2 separate regions of the Homo sapiens genome follow, and region 1 is linked to region 2. Evidence: promoter capture Hi-C in human tissues and cell types (Jung and others, 2019). All regions are on one chromosome and are shown on one strand. Each heading gives the region's core, a stretch centred on a gene start or on the middle of the fragment in contact. The rest is flanking DNA. Distances are from core to core; before and after follow the strand shown. Region 1 overlaps CASP7 (caspase 7). Region 2 holds the start of TRUB1 (TruB pseudouridine synthase family member 1).

Region 1 (4,983 bases), core at 990-3,489, 1.3 Mb after region 2:
AAAAGCACCTCATTACATACAAAGAAATGTCCATAAGACCATCTGGTGGATTTCTCACCAGAAACCTTGCAGGCCTGGAAAGAGTGGGATAATATAATCAAAGTGCTAAAAGAAAGAAACTGCCAACCACAAATATTATATCCAGCAAAGCTGTCCTTCAGAAGAAAAGATAAATACTTTTCTGAGACACATGAAAATGACAGTGTTCATCACTACTAGACCTGCCTTACAAGAAATGCTAAAAGGAATACTTCAGGTTGAAATGAAAGGACATTCTTTAAACTCACTGGTAAAAGTAAGTGTATAGTCAAATCCAGAATATGTGAATAATTTACAGGTGGTCTTTGACTTACAATGGTTTTACTTAAGATCTTTTGTCTTTCCAATGCTGCAAAAGCAAAACACATCATGTAGAAACCATACTTCAAGTAACCATACACCCATCCTGTTTTTACTTTTAGTACAGTATTGATAAATTATATGAGATATTCAACACTTTATTATTAAATAAGCTTTGTATTAGATTCTCATGCCCAGCTGTAGGCTAATGTGATATAAGCATGTTTAAGACAGGCTAGGCTAAGCTCTGAAATTCAATAGATTAGTTGCATTAAAGGCATTTTTAGCTTATGATATTTTCAACTTACATTGGGTTTATAGGGATGTAAACCCATCATAGGTTGAGGAGCATCTGTATTAGCTGTGCATAAATCACTTTGAACTCTACTAAAGTTAAAAGACTAAAGTATTAAAAACAACTCTAGCTTCAATAACCATAGCTATATAGTTGTTAATAGATATACAATATAAAGAAATGTAAACTGTGACATCAATAACATAAAACATGGAAGGAGAGAATAAAACTGCAGAATTTTTGAATGTGCGTGAAGTTAAGTTGTTGCTATGGTCTGAATGTTTACGTACCCCCCAAAATTTACACATTGAAATCTATTCACCAATGTCATAGTATTAGGAGGTGGGGCATTTGGGGTATGATTAGGTCAAAAGGGTAAAGCTCCATAAATGGGATTAGCACTTTTATATAAAGAGAGCTGCCCTGCCCTATCTACCATGTGATAAGATATAATAAATGAACAAGGAAATGAAACTTCGCTATACACTGATGCTGTTAGCACTTTGATCTTCAACATGCCAGCCTCCAGAACTACAAGAAATATATTTCTGTTGTTTATAAGCTACCCAGTTTAGGGTATTTTGTAATAGCATCCCAAATGGACTAAGTTGTTATCAACTTAGAATAGAACGTTATAAGATGTTTTGTGTAAGCCTCATGGTAATAACAAAGCAAAAATCTGTAGTAGATATGCAAAATATATACAGAAAAGAAACAAAGCATATCACTACAAAAAATGATCAAATCACATGGGAGGGAAGCAAGAGAGGAAGAGAGAAACAGATGAACTATAAAACAGTCAGAAAACAATCACAAAATGGCAACAGTGAGCCCTTTACCTATCAATAATTTCTTTAAATGTAAATGGATTAAGTTATCCAATCAAAATACATACAGTGACTAAATAGAGTAAAAACATAAGATCCAACTACATGATATTTACAAGAGACTCACTTTAGATTTAAGGACACACATAGGCTAAAAGTGAAGGGATATAAAAAGATAATCCATATGAATGGTAACCAAAAGAGAGCAGGGGGGGCTATACTTATATCAGACAAAATAGACTAAAGTAAAAAACTTTCGAGATAAAGAAGGTCATTATATTATAACTATAGATATCAATTTACCAAAGACATAACAACTGTAAATATATATGCATCAACATTAGCACACCTAAATATATAAAACAAGTATTAATAGAACTACAGAAAGAAATAGCAATAGATAAGAGTAAGGGACTTCAAAACCTCACTTGCAACTATGGATATTTCATCCAAATGGAAAATCAATTAGGAAACAGTGGATTTGAACAACACTAGTCCAAATGGACCTAACAGACATATATACAACATTTCATCCAACAGCAGCAAAATACACATTCTTCTCAAGTGTACACAACATTCTCCAAGATGGATCATATGCTAGGCTACAAAACAAGTCTTAATTAATTTAGGAGGATTAAAGTCATATCATGTATCTTTTCTGACCACAAATGGTATGAAAGTAGAAATCAGTAACAGGAGAGAAATTAGAGAATTCACAAATATGTGGAAATTAAGCAACACACTGCTCTTCTTTGAGCCAGAACAACAAAACTACAAAACACTGATGAAAGAAATTAGACATAAATAAATGGAAAGATATTCCATGTTCATAGATTGGAAGAATTAATATGTTAAAATGTCCATGCTGCTCAAATTGATCACTGAACAGATTCAATGCAATCCCTATCTAAATTCCAATGGCATTTTCACAGACATATAAAAAAATTATAAAATTCATATGTAGCTACGAAAGACCCTAAATAGCCAAAGCAAACTTGAGCAAGAGCAAAGCTAGAGGCATCACATTTCCTCACTTCAAATTATATTACAAAGCTATAGTAATCAAAACCGTATGATACTGGCATAAAGCAGACACATGGAGCAACGGAACAGAATAGAGAGTCTGGAAATAAACCCACACATTACAGTCAACTAATTTTTGACAAGGGTGCCAAAAATATTCAATATGGAAAGGATAGTCTCTTCAAGAAATGGTGTTGGGAAAATTGGATATCCACATGCAAAAGAATAAAACTAGACTCTTATTTCACACCATACAAAAAAATCAACTCAAAATGGATTAAAGACTTCAACATAAGACCTGAGACCTTAAAACTGCTAGAAGAAAACATAGGGAGAAAGCTCTTTGACATTGGTCTTGACAATGAGTTTTTGCATATGATGCTAATGCACAGGCAACAAAGGCAAAAATAAACAAGTGGGATTACACCAAACTAAAAAGCTCTGCATAGCAAGGAAACAATACAAAAAACGAAAAAGCAACCTATGGAATGGGAGAAAATATTTACAAACCATATATCTGAAAAGGGGTTAATATCCAAAATACACAAGGAACTCACACAACAGAATAGCAAAAAAAAAAAAAAAAAAAAAAAATCTAATTAAAAAAATGGGCAAAGAACCCGAATAGACATTTCTCTAAAGACATACAAATGGGCAACAGGTATATGAAAAGGTGCTCAATGTTCCTAATCATCAGGGAAATGCAAAGCAAAACCACAATAAGATATCATCTCGCAACTGTTAGGATAGCTATTTTATATGTGTGTGTGTGTGTGTGTATACACATACACATATGCATATATAATGTGTATGTGTATGTATATATGTGTGTGTGTATAAAGGTAAGTGTTAGCAAGGATGTGAAAACAAGGGAACTCTTCTATACTGTTGGTGGGAATATAAATTGGTACAGCCATTATGGAAAACTGTCTAGAGGTTTCTCAAAAAATTGAAACTAGAAATCGCATATGATCCAATAATCTCACTTCTGGCTATATATCTAGAGAAACTGAAATCAGGATCTCAAAAAGATACCTGCACTCCCACATTCACTGTAACATTATGGAAACAATCTAAATGTCCATCAATGAATGAATAGATAAAGAATATGTGGTATACACACACAATGGAATATTATTCTGCCATAAAAAAAGAAGGAAATCCTGCCATCTGTGACAAGATGGATGGACCTAAGGAACATTACGCTAAGTGAGATAAGCCAGACACAGAAAGACAATTACTGTATGATCTCACATCTATGTGGAATCTAACAGAGTCAAACTCATACAAGTGGAGAATAGAATGGAGGTTGTCAGAGGTTGGGGGTGGGGGCAGCGAGGAAGAAATGGGGAAGTGATAGTCAAAGGGTACACAGTTTCAGTTGTGCAAGATGAATAAATTCTAGAGATCTCCTATATAGCATAGTGCCCATAGCTAACAATACTATATGGTATACTTACAATTTGCTAAAAGGGTAGATCTTATGGTGAATGTTCTTACCACACAAAAAATACTAGTTTTGGCCAGGCATGGTGGCTCACACCTGTGATCCCAGCACTTTGGGAGGCTGAGGCAGGCGGATCACAAGGTCAAGAGATTGAGACTATCCTGGCCAACATGGTGAAACCCCGTCTCTACTAAAAATACAAAAATTAGCTGGGCATGGTGGTGCATGCCTGTAGTCGCAGCTATTTGGGAGGCTGAGGCAGGGGAATCGCTTGAACCCGGGAGGCAGAAGTTGCAGTTAGCCGAGATTGCGCCACTGCACTCCAGCCTGGTGACACATTGAGACTCCACCTCAAAAAATAGTAGTAATAAAAATAATAGTAATAATAGCATTAAACGGTGTGGGAGGAAACTTTAGGAGGTGGTAGCTTTGTTGAGGTGGTGATGATTTCATGGGTGTATCTATGCTTATCTCCAAACTTGGTAGGTATGCATGCATTAACTATGCCTAGCTTTTTATATTTCAACTATACCTTAATAAAGTGGTTTTGAAAAAGGGGAAGACCCTAAGCAAAATGGCTCCTAAGAAAGCCAAGCCTTTGTTTTGATATTATTGGGACTGCTGAGACTTTTGGAGACTCTTCTTCATTCATTCAATGGATATTTACTAGAAGTTAGGAATTAGGGATATACTTGTGAGCAAATTGACCTGGTCCTGCCATGTTGAGAAACAGACATGAAAAAAAGGATGGCGTCTAGTTTGAAATGCAACTGTGGTGTATGCCTTGAGGGTGAACAATCTGTAGCCATACCAGGGAAACTCAAGAGCCTCACAGAAATTAGGGAAACTCCTCAGGGGAGGAAATGTCTGACCTGAGAACTGAAAAGGGGGAAGCAGAGAGGGTAGGTGGGAGCGATGCAGGCAGAGAGAACTGTGCACTCATTAAACATTTGAAATGTTCCACCAAAGGATGGGTATAGCTTAAACTCATCCTTCTCAGACACTAAGAGAGGGCTTTGGACTTAGCTACTGAGATGTAAAATTCAGGCTGA
Region 2 (4,616 bases), core at 1,370-3,869:
CTCTCACTCATAAATTAACAGAAACCTTTTGGGGAACTCTTTACATTTTCAACTTGACACCCCTTGGAGTAAGAAGGCCCCATAAATATACTATCTTCCCTTTGTGCCCAAATATACCTCCTTCTAACTTGCAGACGTACTGCCTCTACTATATAAAGTGGGGAATTTGGTTCACCCCACTGAACTAAGTATTCGTGGATTTTTATTATTTTCTAGCTATAAAATTCTGGTACACTTAGGGCTTTGAAGGATCCCAACAGACAAACAGTAGAGATTGTAGCATAATAGGAATCAATGCAAAGAAAGACAAGGAATGGTATTAGAGGACACAACCACTGATCATGGTTGTCAAACATGGCATTAGAATGTAGGTATCTTTAAGAACCTTCCCAAGGCCGGGAGTGGTGGCTCATGCCTGTAATCCCAGCATTTTGGGAGGCTGAGGCGGGCAGATCACCTGAGGTCGGGAGTTCGAGCCCAGCCTGACCAACATGGAGAAACCCCGTCTCTACCAAAAATACAAAATTAGCTGGGCATGGTGGTGCATGCCTGTAATCCCAGCTACTTGGGAGGCTGAGGCAGGAGAATCACTTGAACCCAGGAGGGGAAGGTTGCAGTGAGCCGAGATCTTGCCATTGCACTCCAGCCTGGGCAACAACAGCGAAACTCCATCTCAAAAACAAAAACAAAAACAAAAACTTCCCAAGCAATTCTGACAGCCAATTACAATGACATTTGGAAAGCCCTAGCCTAACTAACATAAATACAAAATAGGCCAATCACAAGCAATATAGAAATCGAGGATAATGAGAATGTCTCTAGCTAAAGGTTCTAGCCTAGCAAGAGCCTTGAAACATTTTAACCAAGATTCAACAAGAAACTTCAGTTCTTAGAGGCAGATTAGCCAGAAGGCCAGAATATGGCTTTGTCAGAAACTTGTCTGAAAGAATGGTAATCATTACCTTAAGGATAAAAAAAAAAAAAAAAGAAAAGAAACCCAGAGTTTAGCTAACAAATCAGGAAAGCAGCAGTTCTATGAAGGAAAACTAAAAAACTATGATGATACCACAATACATATCCTTGATGCAATTCCTCACTTTGACGTCCTCTGTATGACCCATACTTTCAGGCAACAAAGCAAAACTTTAATAAAAGAATAAGTAGTCGTGATACTGGAATTAAACATCTGCAGGAGTGTACCTATTTGCCCATAAACACTTAAATCTGTACTGTCAGTTATAATTCCCATCAGAATAATTTGTTTTTGCATTTTTTTAAAGTGTAAAGTTTTCCATGGGACACTAAACAATGTAAGAAAGTCCCTGTTACTGGTTTAATGGCGAGACAGAATACGGCCAAACTCTGGAGGGCCTTGAATAACCTAACTAACTAGTTTTACCACCACAAGGTGCAGAAATTACTAGGCTATCAGCTCAGTTAAGGTAAGAGAGTTATCTTTCATCTTCAAGTCTCTATAGGCTAGCACAGACCTGGCTTATTGTATATGTCCAATGAACTTAAGGATCCTGGATGCTTTATGTGTGAAATCATCCGAGCTGATTAACGGGGTGATTCTCTAGGCTTTTCTACTATTTTCCCAGTGTACGTGAATAAACGAATCAATAAAATGAACACTCTCAGCTTAGTGGCCAAGTTATATTTAGTGTTCCTCAAATGTGGTCCATAAACTACTTACACTGGAATCACCTGGAGCAACTATTTAGAATTGCAGTTTCCTAAAAATACCCCGAACTCTCCGAATCACAATCTCGGACAGGGCAGGGATTAGGAATCTGTATTTGTACAAGAGACTCTAAGTAATTGTTAGGCCCATTAAAATGTGAAAACGACTATATTAAGTCTTGGTTAACGAAGTATATCTGCATTTCCAATACATTTTGAGGAATGCAACTTTAGGGGTGCAGAACCAGTACTTCCTTTTGGGGTTCATCCACATGAACCCAACAAAAGCCTCCTGAGGGATCGATCAGATTACAGAAAACAGGTCTGCACGCCCAAGGGCAGGGTTTTATTGTGTAAGTACGGGATTTTTTTCCTCCCGTTGAGAACTACAACTGCCAAGTAGGCTACAAGAGTTCGTGCCAGGGCAAGTCCAAGCCCGAGATGCCCGAGATTCCTGTCCAGAGCTAATTCAATGGTCAGTCTCCCTTTCCCCTCCTTTTGTCTCTTGAATCACGAGCGTCGCAAAAAGCCTAATGTGCTTCCCCTCTCGCAGCGACCGCCTCAGCCTGGTCCCCACCCGGGCTGCAGTACCTGCCAGCAGCTTCTCCTTCAACCGATTCAGCAGCTCGGCTGAAGTGGGCCCTTTGGGCTTGTGCACGGCGAACACGCCGCTCAAGGACAGCAGCTTGGTAGCCAAAGCGGCCTTGGAGACCCTGGCTTCGGATCCGGTCCTGGCCGCGGCCGCAACCACCGCGGCTGCAGCCCTTGCTGACGGGGTCGCAGCCATTGCTGCGACCGTTCCTGCAGTTTCAAGGACAGGGGATGTGTCTGTTTTCAAAGACGGCGAAGACACCACCGCCGCCTCAGAAGCGGCCATACTTTTGTAGCCCAGACCTGTTTCATCGTGGAGGTGCACGCTGATGATGCAACAAGAGTGCGCCTGACAGGACCCTCTTCCTCATACCGCGAAGCTGCGCAGAACGGAGAGGTCGCACGGACTTGTGGGAATTGTAGTCCATGGCCTTCCCATATAGACCAAGAGCTTGCTGTGCCCTTGGACTTTAAATAGAAAATTTTAAATGTTGACTTTTCCTGAGGCTTGTGAAGATCCATGGCTTCCTGGGCTCACTGCTTCATTGATTGTATTGTGCTCTTACATTCAGGTTCAGAATTAGAAGACATCCAAATGTGAGCTCTATTAGAGCAAGGAACTTATGTACCACGTTAACTGAGACATTCCCAAATGCCTCACATGTTGTAGGCACTTAAATAAATATTTGAAAACGTATAAATAAGTATGAATTCTTCAAATTCCCCGAAGAAACCAAGCCAATGGTAAATCACTTGTGCTTATTTTGATGCTCTTCATGCACTCCTGTTCACCCTCCCCAAACCCCCACTGACCCCACTACAATTTTTAATAATTCTGATTTTGAATATCAGCTCTTCTGTGGGTTGAATTCCTTAGTACACTTTGTTTAGATATCAAAAGGTATTCTTGCAATTCATAAACTTTAAACCACTTCCCATTTGAGACCTTCTCCCTAAAAGTTATTCACTCCCTAACAAGATTGAGGAATATTGTTTTGATTCCAGCACAAGGCAGAGTGGAGAAAAATTACTTCTGCACCAGAAACATTAAATGCTATCATAACTATTGTGAGACAGATAAAGTTTGCCCTCATTGTTTTTTAGGTTTCTTTACAACCACTCTTTGTCCTCATCATACTCTTGGACTTTAATATCTAGTATTTTAGTGATGCCCCTTAGCTGCTCACAATCACCAGTTATGGGGTCCCATTTGAACTTGCACCCATTCGTGCAACAGACACATGGCAGAACAATTTATTAAAAGGAAAAAAAAATCTTTGAGGGAGTTTTTTCAGGGTGGAAAGCTGAAACTCCTAGAAGGAAGTCACTTACTCTTGTGGTCTATTATAAAAGCCTAAGCTAACTGAAAAGATTGGCATATCACAGGATTAGTGGACACCTGGCCCTGCTTCAAGATGTTAATTTTTCCACAAAGATGTTGTGACTTCAGAAGGGATGACTGCACCCAAAGGAGCATGGTGTCCATTAGCCTCAGGAAAGAGTTCTCTATTCTTGTGCCATGGAAGCAGAGAGCCAGGGACTTGCAGGGAAGGTTGCAAGGCTTGATCAATGATGACTTGGATGACTCCAAGGCACTTGGAGATTAGAGGCCTTTTCCCAATTGTCCGGACATCAGCAAGCCTCCCTATTTCTCTTGTGGCTCTGGGGGTGAGGGATGCAGAGGGAGAACAGAACTAGGGGTAACATATGATGCTTATATTTGAATTTTCCATCAGCCCAGTGTAGGACCAGAGTTAATCTGATTTAAAGAAAATGAAGAAATGTATATTTCTTGCATGTTTGATTTCTGGGATGCTAGGACACAACAAAATTAATGCTACTCTGCTATTATATCGGCATTCTTGGGATCAGAAGCACCAAGCTTTGTTTTTCTAAGGTAATCAACATCTCCCACATTGGGCAGGCCTTGAATTCACAGGTTTTTTTTGCTCCAATACATGTATGAGTTTGGGCTCTTTGGTCAACAGAAAACTGATTCATACCAGCTTGGGGGCACAGGGGGAGAAGATTTATCAGAAATACACTGACACACTATTCAGAACCTAGAAAGTTCTCTGTCTCTAGCTGCACATCCTTCTTTTATGCTACTCACTTGTGTCTTTTTTTTTTTTTTTTTTTTTTTTGAGACAGAGTTTCACTCTTGTTGCCCAGGCTGGAGTGCAGTGGCACAATCTCAGCTCACTGCAACCTCCGCCTCCCGGGTTCAAATGATTCTCCTGCCTCAGACTCCTGAGTAGGTGGGATTACAGGCATGTGGCACCATGCCCAGCTAATTTTGTATTTTTAGTAGGGACGGGGTTTCTCCATGTTGGTCAGGCTGG

The links. The method cuts DNA at HindIII sites, captures the fragments that hold promoters and counts their contacts. A contact is called where the count stands out against the background at its distance.
Region 1: a fragment that was not itself captured here is called in contact with the fragment with the promoter of TRUB1 in region 2 in 1 of the 25 tissues and cell types used here (stomach).

Annotation. Positions count from the first base shown.
Region 1 is chr10:113,682,335-113,687,317 of GRCh38, reverse strand. The region is part of intron 1 of CASP7 (caspase 7); the gene reads right to left. Among named protein-coding and RNA genes, the nearest start is that of CASP7, 4.9 kb to the right of the region's middle. RefSeq lists an enhancer at 4,783-4,912. The HindIII fragment of the contact is 8,159 bases long and covers 1-4,983 here.
Region 2 is chr10:114,936,198-114,940,813 of GRCh38, reverse strand. It overlaps TRUB1 (TruB pseudouridine synthase family member 1), which reads right to left and starts at 2,619. Exons shown (of 8, transcript NM_139169.5): 1 at 2,275-2,619. The coding sequence starts at 2,560. RefSeq lists an enhancer at 2,248-2,787. The HindIII fragment of the contact is 7,626 bases long and covers 1-4,616 here.